Regions from separate parts of the Homo sapiens genome. Here all the other regions are linked to region 1. The links are contacts of gene promoters, found by promoter capture Hi-C in blood cells and fetal thymus (Javierre and others, 2016). All regions are on one chromosome and are shown on one strand. The core of a region is centred on a gene start or on the middle of the fragment in contact, and the rest is flanking DNA. Distances in the headings are between cores, read along the strand shown. Region 1 holds the start of EPHA1-AS1 (EPHA1 antisense RNA 1). Region 2 overlaps TRPV5 (transient receptor potential cation channel subfamily V member 5). Region 3 holds the start of OR9A2 (olfactory receptor family 9 subfamily A member 2).

The links. The method cuts DNA at HindIII sites, captures the fragments that hold promoters and counts their contacts. A CHiCAGO score of 5 or more calls a contact.
Region 2: a contact is called between a fragment that was not itself captured here and the fragment with the promoter of EPHA1-AS1 in region 1, in 1 of 17 cell types (neutrophils). The highest score is 5.5, in neutrophils.
Region 3: the fragment with the promoter of OR9A2 here is called in contact with the fragment with the promoter of EPHA1-AS1 in region 1 in 1 of 17 cell types (neutrophils); the score reaches 5.0 in neutrophils.

Annotation. Positions count from the first base shown.
Region 1 is chr7:143,405,056-143,409,787 of GRCh38, forward strand. EPHA1-AS1 (EPHA1 antisense RNA 1) reads left to right here and starts at 2,758. Exons shown (of 5, transcript NR_033897.1): 1 at 2,758-2,831. EPHA1 (EPH receptor A1) reads right to left here and starts at 3,801. Exons shown (of 18, transcript NM_005232.5): 1 at 3,669-3,801; 2 at 2,556-2,623. The coding sequence starts at 3,750. RefSeq lists enhancers at 1-288, 3,873-4,485. The HindIII fragment of the contact is 7,900 bases long and covers 2,049-4,732 here.
Region 2 is chr7:142,913,387-142,918,118 of GRCh38, forward strand. TRPV5 (transient receptor potential cation channel subfamily V member 5) reads right to left here. Exons shown (of 15, transcript NM_019841.7): 9 at 2,096-2,182; 10 at 1,921-1,997; 11 at 1,495-1,660; 12 at 1,254-1,320. Among named protein-coding and RNA genes, the nearest start is that of TRPV5, 18 kb to the right of the region's middle. The HindIII fragment of the contact is 1,279 bases long and covers 1,475-2,753 here.
Region 3 is chr7:143,025,257-143,029,988 of GRCh38, forward strand. It overlaps OR9A2 (olfactory receptor family 9 subfamily A member 2), which reads right to left and starts at 1,876. Exons shown (of 1, transcript NM_001001658.1): 1 at 944-1,876. The coding sequence starts at 1,876. The coding sequence ends at 944. LOC105375544 (a long non-coding RNA gene) reads right to left here. Exons shown (of 2, transcript XR_001745395.1): 2 at 4,004-4,732. The HindIII fragment of the contact is 3,416 bases long and covers 258-3,673 here.

The sequences.
Region 1 (4,732 bases), core at 1,508-4,007:
TGCATTATGTTAGGGAGTTCAAAGATTGGGCAAGGGGTGTCTAAAAGGCAAGGAAGCTGGAATGAAAAAGGCACCAGGAGGCTTCTCCTAAGGAAGGCTGTGCTGGGGAAGCCCAAGTGGAAGGCACTGGCGGGGGTCAGGTGGGCAGGGTGGTGAGTGGTTAACGTGCAGCTCATTAGCCAGATTGCCGTGGCTGAAGCTGGAGCCAGGAGAAGCAGATGTTCCCAGCTGTGCCTTGCCTCTCCCAGTTCCAGCAGTGACAGATGGGCGAGAGCCAGCTGTCCAGGATCAGCAGTAAGGATCCTTTTGCTTATCACTCAGGCGCTGCTGGCTGCCACATGGGTGCATTCTGGACCTGAATGCCTGCGTGTGCATGTGTGCGTGTGTGTGTGTGTGTGTGTGTGTGTTTTGAAAAGATGGGGAGAAGGAGGGGGACAAGGTAGATAGTGGGAGTGTATGACTGCTGGCTGTCTCCTTGCCCTCCTAGCATGCAGGACTGTTTTGCCTGTGCTGAGAAAGTGGCCTTGCTGCCATTCCAGTCAAATTAGGGAAGAGTTATTTGGGTGGAGGTGTCAAGGGCCCAAGGAAGGCCCATGGGAGCCAGAAGTCTGACCTGCAGCTATCACTGTGGGTGATTAGCTGATTTATGAGATAAGTCAACTATTAGGGCTGGATCTTCCAAACGGCCCCTCCTGGAGGATCCACTATGGTTTAGTCTATTAGCTCTAATTACAGGCTACTCTGTAGGAGAACAGAGAACGGAGCCAGGACTGTAGGACCCAGAGGGAAAGAAAGCAAGTAACCCTGACCCCAGAAACAGGGGCTGGATTGAAGTCTCAAGTACTGGGGTAAGGAAGGAAACCCTGAGAGAAGGGGTTCCAGAGCCAGAGTTGTAGATGCTCCAGTAACTTAGGCAGCCCCCTAAGTGGTTCTGTGACCAGCTGTGCTGCTGGCAGAAAGGGTGCTGTGAATTGTAAAATATATATTTGGTCTTTGTCCACATTTCCTGGCAAACAACCCCTAAAGCCCTCAAAATCCCTGAAGTGACAAATGTCTTTTTATATGCTAGTGAGCTGACTGCCGGGGATGGGAACTAGACTGGGGTGGGGGAGGCCTGGGTGGCAGAAGGCAACCTTGTGATTGGAGTTGGGACTTTCGGCCCCACCCCCAACTTCCAGGGAAGGTAGAGAGGTTGAAGGTTGAGCTGATAACCAGTGGGCAATGATCTAATTAATCACGCCTATGTAATGAAGTCTCCATAAAAGCCCAGAAGGATGGGGTTGGGAGGGCTTCTGGATGGCCATACATGATTAGGTCCCTGCAGGGTGGCTCGCCTCCTTCACATATACCTTGCCCCATGCAGCTATTCCATCTGGTGTTCATGGTACCATTTGTAATAACCGTTATAGTAAGCCAGTAAATCCAAGTCAATGTTTCCCTGAGTTCTGTGAGCCATCCTAGCAAACTAATTGAACCCGAGGAGGAGGGTCAGGTAAACCTGATTACAGCCGATGGAACAGAAGTATAGGTGACAACATGTTACTTGTGATTGTTGTCTAGAGGAGGGCAGTCTTGTGGGGCTGAGCCCTCAACCTGAGGCTATCTCCAGGTAGATAGTGTAAGAACTGAATAAGATTAGAGGACACTCAGCTACTGTCCACTGAAGAATCTGCCAGAGAGAACTGACTGCAGGCGGGAGGAATCCCTACACGCATTTTGGTGACCACAGGTCACCGAAGTGATTTGTGTTGAGAGTGCAGTAGGAAAAAACTGAGTTTGGTTTTTTGTACATCATAAGAGCTGCTCTCTGCATTTGAGTCTGAATATGCTCTCTCAGACCCACCTCACAACCTGTTCACTGAGTCTTAGGAACATCCAAGGAAGGAAGGGAACTGGAACAAGCTCTGACACTTTCAAACAGCTGGAATGCATGGTGTGCACGCAGTCAGCCTGAGGAGGTGTGGAGGATGAGCTAAGGGCTCAGAAACCTTTAGGGGAGCAGCTTTTAACTTCGGAGGAGTCAAAGACCCTTTGAAGAATTTGATGAAAGCTTTGGCTGGTCTCTCCAGAAAAAAAAATGCCCGCTTACATATACAGAATTTAGAGTACACTTTCATGGGGTTTCCCCACCCCCTGAAACCTATCAATGCAACTTCATTGGGATGAATGGATCTCAGATTGAGGATGCTTTTCTGCCTTTTCTATCCCTCCCCAAGCAAAGCACTGGTCTCAGCCTTCAACCATCCCCAGCATGGTGCATTCTCTCCCCGGGTATGTGAGCTCCTCTCCCCCTCACAAGTATCAGCTTGTATTCACAATATTCCCAAGTATTCACTGGAGGAGCCAGGCCATTCAAGCGTTCATCTTGAGGTGAAGTCTGACCCCCCCACCCCTTGTCCCATTGAGGAGGCTCTGACTCAGCCTCCTCTCCCCCTCCCTGAGGAGACACTTCCAGTTTTTCCTGCTCTTTTCTCTGTTCCTCCACCCACCTCTCCACCCCATTTCCCACTGGCCTTCAGGAGTTTTCCAAGATCCTTCCCTCTTCCGACACTTACCCCATCTTTTGGGGGATCCAGCAGCCAGCCCAGCTCTCCCTGTGCCTTGCTTGTGTCCATCAGAGTAACTGAAAGTGGGGAGAAAAGAAGTCTGTCACCTCTGGGGGAGGAGGTGCCCCTGCAGCCCACATTAATCATTCTGGGGCCTCAGCCCCAGGCTGCAACATCCTGTTCCTAAAAGCTGTGACTTCCTGAGGCTTAGGGGAGAAAAAGGGCTCAGGACTGAGGAGTGAAGAGCTCCAGGGATTTCACTCTTCTTTGTGTGTGTGAAGGAAGGCAGGTAGAGTGGGACAAGGGTTGGGGCGCTGGGTCTTTGACCAAAGTCAATGCAAGAAGAGCAGCCCCACGAGACGCTCAGTTACCCAGGCTGCTGCGTCCTGGGACACCCATCAGCTGCAGGATTGGAACGCGTGGAGGGCAGGAGGAGCTCACCTCTGCTAGCCAGGAGTGGGCAGGGTGGACCGGGGACCTCAGAAGGGGTTTCCTGGGTAGGGAGGCTCACCTCCACTGTCCGAAGCCTGCTTTGGCCTGACCTGGCCAGTGATCAGAGCCGTGAAGTGGGGATAAGAGGCACAGCTACCTGCCTGGGAAGTGGGGGGGAGTAAGGCCGGAGAGGGTGTTCCAACTTTCACATGGAATATTCGACTCGGACAACTGGGAACCCCTGTGGCGTCAGTCCTAACCCTTCTCCCGGAGGCAGCTCCCTCTGTCCCTGGCCTAGGTTGGCAGGAGGCGACTTCCCACCTTCAACTTCCAAGGGCTCAGATCTCTGGGGTGGGCACCTGAAGCTGGGACTGTCTGGGAATGCAGGCAGGGGTGCGGGTGCAGGTGCTACTTCCTGGCAAGGGTCCGGAATTCCCTCCCCACTCCCAGGAGCAGATTGCTGGCCTGCGGGAGTGGGGGTGACTGACCCGGGAGAGCAGCCGCTTGGGGTTAAAGACCAAAGATGGGCCTGGCCAGTCGATAGCCTGGCGGTCGGGCACAGCGAGAGAGCTGGCGAGGGTCTCGGGGAACATGGCCCCTAGGAATGCCGGCTTCTGCAGGGGGGTGCTGGCCGGGCCCCGGGAAGGGGCGGGGCGCGGGGGTTGGGGGCGCGGGGGCGGGGGTCGGTACCTTCCTTGGCGCGCGCCCCCGGGGGCAGCGGGGCGCAGAGCAGCAGCACCAGCCCTAGCCCCAGGGGCCAGCGCCGCTCCATAGCTCCGGGCCGGGACCTGGGACAGTGGCCCGGATGGCAGCGCCAGGTTGCAAGGGACTAGGAGAGCCGGGCGGGCCGGGCGGGGGCGGGGGGCGGGGCCAGCGCCGGGGGCGGAGTCCCGGCCTCACCTGGTTCACCTCCTTAAAGGGACAGTAGGGCAGGAAAGAAACTTGCTAGACTGGTAATCAAATTCAAGAACCGGAGGCGTCTTGACCCGAATGAGACTGCGGGCGCCGCCTAGTAGGTGGGATTAAGAATTGACGAACCTTTTCCCAATTCTAATCCTAAACTCAACCCAATCTTGATCCAGCTTTTAACCTAATTCTACCTCTGACTTGAATTACACTCCTATATTCCTCTTTCTGTCTTTGTGCAGGCCCCAGAGCTGGGTAATAGGGCCGGGGAAGGCAAGGGGTAAGAGTCATATCTTCACCCTCTAGCAGGGGAGGCTTAGATGACCACAATGCAAGGTGGGGTACAACCTGCAGTGAAGCATCTGGAGATTAGAAGAGGAAGCAAGCCCAGTCATCGGGGCACATTAGTTGAGTCTTCAGGGAGAGCTGGTGTGACCTGGGTTTTCAGTGGCAGAGATTGGGAAAGGCACCAGCAAGGGCCTGAAGGCAGGGAGCCTCAAGGTGCGCCCAGGGAGTGGTGAATGGACCAGTTTGACTGCTGGGGCGCAGGATTTGTCTTGGGAATCAGGGCAGAAAGGCAGGTGTGGGCCAGGGCTGGGTAAACAAGAAAAGGAGTTTGAACCTTGACATGCACTTACACAGCAGACATGAATATCTGGTTAAGGTTCCAGCCACAGGTGGCAGGGAAGGATATTTTAACCCATCTTAGTGGTGTCAAACCACGTGCCCTCTCACTTTCTTGCGGACTTCCTTATATTCTTTTTCTTTTTTGAGATGGAGTCTCGCTCTGTGGCCCAGGCTGCAGTGCAGTGGTGCAATCTTGGCTCACTGCAACCTCCGCCTCCCTG
Region 2 (4,732 bases), core at 864-3,363, 490 kb before region 1:
GAGCAGAAACAGGGTCTATGACAAAGCATTGCCTCCTTATTTATTTAAGAGAAAAGCAAGTGCAATGGCCAAGAAGTGAACATTTAGAGAGTTCTGGATAGAGGACATCTACAGAAAGCCACTCTGGGACCATCACCTCATTTTGTAATCTGTGTTATGTATAGATGTAGATGGCCAGGGAGTGGGAGGAAAGGGTACATAAGGGCTTGGGGTGGAAAACTCCAAACAGGCAGAACGCCATGGTTTTACTCTTTCACATTTCAGATTTTGGTGGGGGTTTTGTTGTTGTTGTTTTGTTTTGTTTGTTTTTTGTTTTGGTCTGTTGTTTTGTGGGAATCCCCATTGAACGGGAAATCCCTGAGGACAGTAATAGAGTCCTCTGCACTGAGTCATTGCTTTTTAGAGATGGGGGGATCCTTCTAGTGCCTCTTCTTGTCTAATAGATGGTCAGTTGCAGACACTGAGGACTGAATTTGAGCTACTGGCCTTTTGCTTTTCAGACCTGGGCCTTCCTCTTTCTGCCCCTCCCTAAGGACTTTCTTCTGCTCCTCCACCCACCCTCTCCTTCCCTCTGGCTGTTTCCACCTGCCTGTGTTTTCCTGCTGTGCCGTTCCTTTCTTTTGCTCCCTGGCACTTTCACTGGCTGTGCCTTGACTGGGTGCCTGTGTGTTCCTGTTCTCCCAGTCTCTCTTCACAACTCTTCTTTTTTGTTTTCTCTGTCATCTTCAAACTGTCCAAGCTGTTTTTCTGCACCTCCTTTTTCTAATTCTTTCATATTTTTCTCAGCTTTAAATGACCACATATAGAAAAAAAGCAAGTTATATGTTGTTGAGTGCTTTAGGTTTCCTCTTCTGAATTGTAAACATAGGAGAGTTAAGCATGGCACTATCTCTGTTTGTCCACATGGTTTTCTGAGATCCATGACTGGCCAGTCTTTCCTGTTTAATGCCCTGTTCTCACCAAAAGTCTTTTCCTGTCTCTCCTTTAAAGATCTTGCAAGGCAGTTAGTGAACATAAATCTTATTGGCCCTGAACACATGGCTTTACGTTCCAGGCCAACCTGAGTGGCCCCTGGTCCTATAAATATGGGTGTGCTTTTAGACTTACCTTCCAACAGGAAAAAACAAAACAAAAAACAAACAAAAAAAAAGAAAGCAAAATGAAGTGCAAATGAGAACTGAGAGCAAGAATGAGAGTGAACTTTCTGGAGAACTAGATCTGCTGATCTAGTAGAGGAGTGTATGGTGCCTTACCGGAGGCAAATCCCAAGATGACCACAGCCATCAGCCAGCAGAAACGCATTAGGTCTCCAAAAATCATCTGCAGGAAACAGAAGGAAGAAAGGGTGGGATGATTCCTTTTCCACTGCTTTTGAGCAGCTAACGCTAACAGATCAAGAGGCCCCCATAGTTCTACCAGCTCCATTCTACCTCCATCCCTCTGTCTGTGAAGGTCTTGTGCCTGAGGCGGAGGAAGCTTCGGGAAAGCACTGACCTTCTGGATCATGATGGTGAAGGGACCCAGCATCTGGAATCCTCGAGTGAAATACATGACACTGCACCAGCCCAGCACCAGGGCAAAGGACATGGGCACCACCTCCCCATTGGTGTTGGTGAGCCGCATCACCATGGTCACCAGCACCAGGGAGGCATAGGTGATGCTGGGGGAGCAGAAAGCAGAGAGTGAGAGACAAGCTGGAACTATTTTAGGTCCCTACAGCATAGTGGTGACCGGGGTGGTATCCACACACTCAGGCTTAGTCTTTACACCTAAAACGCACATACAGTTACACCTACAAGTCCACTGGAGAGAAGTCCTTGGAGTGAGAGTGACCTGAGGCCTAGAACTCAGAGAGTGAGCTGGAGACAGGAAAAGATTCTGGTAAGGAAAGGCAGGGGGCTGGAATGAGGGGATACTCACATGATGACATGGAATGGCCCCCCAAGAATCGTCTTTCCAAAATAGCGAGAGGCACCAACCCTGAAGATGTCTGGAATCTGGGGAGAGGACGGCAAAGCAAAAATACAATGTGGACTGCGGTACAGTCTGGGCCTTAGATGGGATGGGATTAGCCTGGACCCCGCCTGCCCCTCACCTCTAGGAGCAGGATGATCACAGCCCCAACGATGCTCACCAGCTCCCCCACCAGCCTGATGATATCTTCACGTGTCTCATAGGCCTCCTATGTGGGGAAATTCAGAAGAAGTGCTTTCTGATGGGCAGAGTCAAATCCTTTTGTGCAAATGATCGAAAGCTGCTAAAGCCCATCCAAAATAAAGGAAACTCCCCTTCCCACCAGCATCACCCCACCCCCATTGTACTTGCCATTGTGGGTAACTCTGTGACCAGGACAGGAGTCTATGTATCCAAGGTTTAATAGACGTCACATATGCTAATGTCTTGAGCTACCATCTAGCAAAATCGCCTTTTCTATAGATGCTGTAAGCAGAAATTTATGATGTATATACTGAGCAGCTGAGAACACATTTCAGCGCATCAAGTGAGCTAACAGGAAGAGGTATTAGTGGCTTGGGATGGTTTCAGCTATGTGGAAAGTCCACCTTTTCCAACCTCATCATGGCTTCTAGTGGGAAGAATACACTGTAAACATATCACAGAATTCAGGTTCCCTCACGGATCCGGAATCTACTACCTCTAGTGAGACCTTGAACCATTCATGGAAAATCTCTGAACTTGAGTTTTCTCATCTGTAAAATGGAGGCTACAGTGCTTACCTCCCAGAGTCATTGTGAAGCTTACATTAATGATATATTTACATGAACTTTATAAATCATAAATCACTATAGATATATTCACTGTGGTTTTATGATGATTTGACATTACAGAAAAGAGCAGAGAAGGGGCTAGAGACACTATGAGGAAGGGTCCCTGCCTATCCTGAGCAGTAGTTGTAGAAGGTATAGTCCAAGGGTCAAGGTGGAATGAAGACCACCCTACTTCAATGCATGTTACTTCACGGTGAAACTTATGCAATATCACAGATGTAGTGCTAGAATCCTACATTAATTATCCTTATGTTTTTGAAGTTATGAGCTCACTTGAAAACATAATAAAAACTGTATATCTTCTTTCTACAAAACTGTGTTCCCATGTAGACAATTCCCACATGATATTGCACAAATAATTTCAACACATGCAAGCAGCCTTTTGACTTTTGGGAGCTCTGTTGTCCAAGGTCACATCTCCAAATAGTGCACCCAAGAAAGGAGTTGAGAGTCCCCTGGGGCCAGCAGGAAAGCTGATGATTTGAGCCAGGGAGAATGTGGTCCCTAGTTAGCATAAGGAACGGCAATTATCCCTGCTCTGCTAATCAGCTGGAACCTGTAAGCATCTCTCCAGACTCTACTGCAGCAGCACACTCACCTGCCCGGTGAGAGGCAGTGCTTTTAACACAGGGAACCAAGAGAGACTAGGAGAGAAGCTTCTGTCTGTGTGTCTGGAGAACTCTGTGGTCTAACAACCTGTGACCAGACATCAGTCAACACTTTTTTTTTTCTTTTTTGGCTTAAAAAATGGTATGCTCTGTAAACTTTTCTGACATTTATCTCTTGAGAAACTGGTAAATTTTATTTTATCATATAATAGCAAATTTCTTTTTTTACTTGCTTCCAAAGAATTTCAGAGTTTTTGTTTTGTTTTGTTCTATTTTTTTGTGTGTCTGGTTTTTTTTTGTGCGTTTTTTTTGTTTTGTTTTGTTTTGTTTTTTTGTCCTCAGCTCTAGCAGCTATCTTTGAATTCCTTCTCTTCTCTCCTGAAATTCAGTTCACGGACTGTGTTCTTTTTCTTTATCTTAATGTTTCTATAGCATCTGTCTTTTATTGTAAAACATGCCAACTCCTTCACAGAGTCAGGTAGTGAGTAGGAGGATAAATAACAAATACATTACTTCAGAAACAAAATAACATTAAATATAGAAATAACTGCATCTATGCCATATATGTGTCTATAAAAATATTTTTATTTTAAAAATGTCGTGTCTTGATTTAATATGTCTGAAAAGATGCTACCAATCTTTTCTTGGCTCAAGAAGAAAAGGACTACACATAAGTTGGCGAGGATGGCTGTGAAGATCAGGGTGCCCCTAGAATCCAGCCAGGGAGTCACAGCAGCCATTCCTTCAGGAGATGAAAATGTGAAACCCCTCTAATGCTGGGGACAGTTTTGGTCACCAAATTCTCCTGCTGGGGCTTCCTCTCACCAGTTCAACAGATTTCTTTACAAGTACGCATTACTCTGCACAAATTCACTAATGAGTAATGGAGGTGTTCAGAAACCCCAATTTTTTGCCTCTGCACTGCCTGGGATCTGACTGACCTAGAGTAGCTGCCTCCAGCACTCTGTCCCCGGGGTCCTTACCCTTAAACCAGGCTGCAAAGTGCCACAGACTCCTGAGAGCCCCCTTCCTTGCTGCTCTACAAGACCAGAATACAAACCCTTCTGTAGGGTTTTGTTTGCTTTGTTTTATAAACTAATCTCTCTGGAAAACAAAAACAATATATGTATGTAAAAGTTGCAATAGAAGTAATGATAATATTGGGCTTTTAAAGCACTTTGATTTTCTTTAGACTTTCTGGGGAACTCCAGTGTTTCACACTGATATAAAATGTTAGCTCTTGCTTTAGAATAGATACTCTTTGCAAAGGTAAGGAAGATTTCAGTATTTCAGAAATGGAAAGGGGCATTAAATTGAAGTGCTAATAGGCTTCCCTTT
Region 3 (4,732 bases), core at 626-3,125, 380 kb before region 1:
AGAATGGCCTCTTATTTTTAAAAAATTCTGCCCACAGAGAAGATACACATGATGGTACTGAGACTGTTGGATTTGAGAGACGGAGAATCAAAAGACATTATAAAGTTTGAAGTCTAGATCTGGATACAGTCTGAACAGACATAGTTGTGTTTAACAGCCATAAAATACAGGATGCTCTCTAGAATTAGTCATTTAGTTCTTATTTGCCCCTGTCCCTATACTCACCACAAAGAAGGGCAGTGAAAGGAATATGCTGAAGCTTAACAAAAATAAATTTTCCTCCATTTTTATCCTCAAATATTTTTATCTTCTTTACACCACAAATATCTCCTGAATGAGAAGCATTCCAATCCTCATATCGCCATTCTAGACTGGTTCTGTGACAAAACGTAAACAGTGTTACACTTCCTTTCCAGTATCAATGGGGCAGAGAGAAAGAGCTTTAGGATATCTAAAATGCATATGGCCATCTTGCCAAAAAATTGCACAAAAATATAGGGAAGAACTTAGCAACAGGTGATGAAGGACCAAAGTGAGCATCTCTACCTTTCTACTCTGATTAGGACACCTTTCTCAGTACACCTCCCTCCACACTTCCTCCCTTCCCCAGAAAATACATTTTCAGAGATGGACTATGAGGAAATGAGTTGGGCTAATAGAATTCTTACAAAAATGTCTGCATTTCCTTTCTCTAGTCCCCCCCAAATCACAAGAATATGTTCAACAGTGGAAACAGGCAGGAACTAAGGCTATGAGAGTCTCCTGGACAGACAATGGATTTCATTATTACCAGCCTAATCTACTTCCATGGTGTGATGGCGAATTGTACACACTCTTTGACTTTTGTAATGAGAGGATAAGAGAAAAGAGGAGTTAGAATTTTCTAGGTGACTTAATAATTAACCCTGAGGCTTGGACCACCTAAAACTGACTTACAGAACAGCTAATCTTTCAGGAGTTGACAGCAGCGTTTCATCCCATCTCGGAGGGCCTCTTTGACTTTGTCATTCCGAAGAGTAAAGATGAAAGGATTCAGGAAGGGGGTTAACACAGAAACCAACAGGGAAACTATCTTATTGTACTCAACTCCCTGTGTTTGCTTGGGTTTCACGTAGAGAAACAAGCAGCTGCCATAGCCAATCACAACACAGGTGAAGTGGGAGGCAAAAGTGGAGAAGGCTTTCCTCCGGCCAGAGGCTGACGGGATCTTGAGGATGGTGGAGATAATGTAGGTGTAGGAGACAATCGTAGGGATCAAAGAACCAATGAGAATAAAAACAGCCATTAAGAAAAGGATAAACTCTGTGAGAAGAGTGTTATCGCAGGACAGTTTGAGCAATTGCCCTCGGTCACAGTAAAAATGGTCTAATGAATTTGATTTGCGGAAGGTAAACTGAAATGTGGCATAGATGGGCCAGATTTCAGAAAGAAATCCAAACACCCATGACACTATTACCACCCAAATACAGGTACTGCTGTTCATAATGATGTTGTACCTCAAAGGGTTACACACAGCCACATAACGGTCCACAGCCATCACTCCAAGTAATGCAAACTCCATGGTCCCACAGGAAAAGTTGAGCGATACATGTAGAGAAAGATACTGTCTGCATCCCAGGAAGAGCAATCCCCAAAGCATCATGGGGACAATTATGGTTGTGACCAGGATCTCCAGGGTAGAGAGGTGGCTGAGGAAGAAATACATGGGGGACTGCAGACGTTTATCCACACAGACAATCACAATGATGACCGTGTTTCCCATTAATGTCACTAAATAGAAGAAAAAGAATATAGCAAAAAGAATGTGGTGTAGTCCTTGGGACCCAGGGAAGCCTAGAAGGTGGAATTCAGTGGCACTAGAGTGGTTGTCCATCATTTAGTCCTTGATTCTGCTTGTTTTGAAGCCCAGAGATTAAAAGAGAGGTGGCATTGCTCCACATGGTCCTGCTCTCAAGAGAGAAGGAAGAAAAATTAGGTTAAGAAACTATTTCCAACCTGAGAATCAGGTGACATGTCCCTGCTACTGTGGTCGGCACATACATAGCTTGAGGTACATGTTGTCATCCCAAGTCTACAAGTGAGGCTCTCACTTCCCTGTGTAACCAGCCCCCTAGAATGGGTGAAGACATCTTCTTCTACTGGTGGTGAAATACCTTCCTTGCCTTTTTCCCCATTAAATATACCTTCTCTCGGGGGCAGAGGCTAAGACCTTTTAAATAGGCCAGTTTTAAAGGTGAGTCAATCAGGTCCCTCCGGTCCTGGAGTTACTTTCTCTTAGGTTAACTGTGCAAGATGACACAAAGGCATTTTATATGATGTTCAAAGGACAGAATTTTAAACCCCAGCTCTCATCTGTAATGGTAATGCATAGACCCACCTTTGGGGCCAGCAGAAAGGAGGCAGAGGATGTAAGACTAACATCTCTGCTGTTCCAGATTTTAAAATCTCCATTTTACAGAACAGCAAGATCTCTAAATGAGAACTCTAGAGCTTGGGATAATTTCCCAGAACAGATCCATTCTTCTCTAATTCCATTTTCCTTCCAAAGTTGTGGGAGGAAGGAAAGATGGCACCTGGCACAGAAAAGGAATAGATCTGGGACCGCCAGCTGTTAAGGATGCCTGGCTCTCTGCCTGTCGCTTCATTCCATTATTCAAATGTCACCCTTTCCAAAGACTCTTTCCAATCACTCTGCCCAAAACAGAAAAGACACACTTATTATTGGACTTCCATTTTTTTAATAACAGTTGTTATTACCTTGTATTATGTCTAATTATTTACTTCATTCCTTTATTTAACAATAAACAAATGTAGTCATGAACAGAACAAAGAAAATTCCATGCCCTGTGGAGCTTATATTCAAGGAAGAGGTGGGGGCTAGACCACACACAAGACACCTAAGTAAAATATGCAATAGTTTAGTTTGCTTATCATGTCACAGGGAAAAAAATAAGCAAGAAAGAAGGAGAGGAAATTTAAGTGTATTTATTATTTATCAACGGCATTAGAATATAAACTCCATGAGGGCTAGGACATGTCTTCACTGTTGTATTCTGAGGCTGGCACATAAAATGTACATACATAAATTAAGTAGTTATATATTTTATATATATATATCATATATCTTTTATATAGATATAGACAGATACATTATGTGAAATGAATATATCATAGATATATCTTATATATTAAATTATGTATTAATTTATCACAAGGTAACCGAACTAATAGCTGTGTGAGTCAAGATTTGAACCTAGGTCTGTCAGATTTCATCACTCACACAGCTAACTACCACACCTTATATTATATTATTATCTTATATTATTTATCTTATTTATATAAGATATATGAAATAAGATATATGAAATATATCTTATATTATATAAAATATACATATATTTTTTATTTATAAGATATTTAAATACATAAGATATATGTATCATATACATAAAATAAGTAGTGCTGACAAATTTTGCTAGATGAGGTATGGATGGATGGATGGATAATATATGATTAAATAATACTTGTTCTGGCCAGGGCCTGGGCCACATTCCCTCAATCCTATTCTGGTTGGTTTTCCTTCCTGCCTCACATTACCATTTTCCCTCCTGCCCTTCCCTTGCTTAGGTAACCCCTTCCCTGTCTACGTCACTGTTTTACTAATGGTTTAAAAAGCTTCAGGGACAGAATTGATGGGAAAGCTCAGTGTTCTGGTTTTCCACAACCTCTGCATAACCAGCACGAGATGAAGAAACATGAGCGAGAAGGACACCGACTGTCAGGGAGCCGTGACTGTGTTAGCATTGGGTCCAAGAGGAGCCGGAAGTGCTCTCTGCTATGCAGGAAGGGTCTGGAGATGAGCCTATACACTCTACTGCTCCCCTAGCCCACACTTCAATATCTGGGTGACTTTGTTCTAGAAGATAGGCAGGCCCAGGATGTCCCATCCTAAAATGCTTTTACCCTCTTCTTCATAGAGGAGACCCCTTGGAAAGACACTCACCTTTACAGAGGGGCTTCGCCGCCTCTTCTGATGTTCTCTAGGGCTCCGCTGAGGCTACCTCCTGTCCTGCTAGTGCTGAGCCATGCACAGGGGCCAGAACAAGTTGCTGCAATCCCCACTCATGGCGAAGAAGGGAAATGTCCTCCCAGAGGAGCTTAGGAAAAAGCCCAGAAATGAGTGTTGGGCAAAGTTGAGGGTCCTCTCTCTCTCCCCTCTCCTCCCTCTTCCCTTCTTCCCAAGGGTACTTAATCACCGAGTTACTACTTCTTAATTAGCCCACGTTCAGGGAGTCCCCAGGCAATCAGTCTAGTGGGAGCAGAACAAACTTTAAGTTATTCCCATTTTTTGACCAATTAAGTTTTAGAACTTTTGAAAGTTTTTGTTTGACGGGAAAACCTGAAATCTTACCAATCAGGGACTTCTTAATACTGGGGCTGCCTTCCTGAAAACCTCAGGTCTAGGTTTCCAGATGTCTCAGATTCTAAACAGTCAACTACCTCTGTCGTTTATCTTAGGCTTTTCTCAAGTTTCTCTAGTTATTCGGAGCCTAAATCAACCCTTTTCCCCCAGTAGGAGACACCACAATTGGCCTCTAAAACATGCACCAATATCCCAAAAAAGTCTGCATATTGGTCTTGGTCAAAGCCTTAACTTCACCAAATATCTTCTAAAAAGCCTGATGACTCCTTCATTCATTTTAAAAAGGCTCCTGCGTTTAGTCCTGTGGAC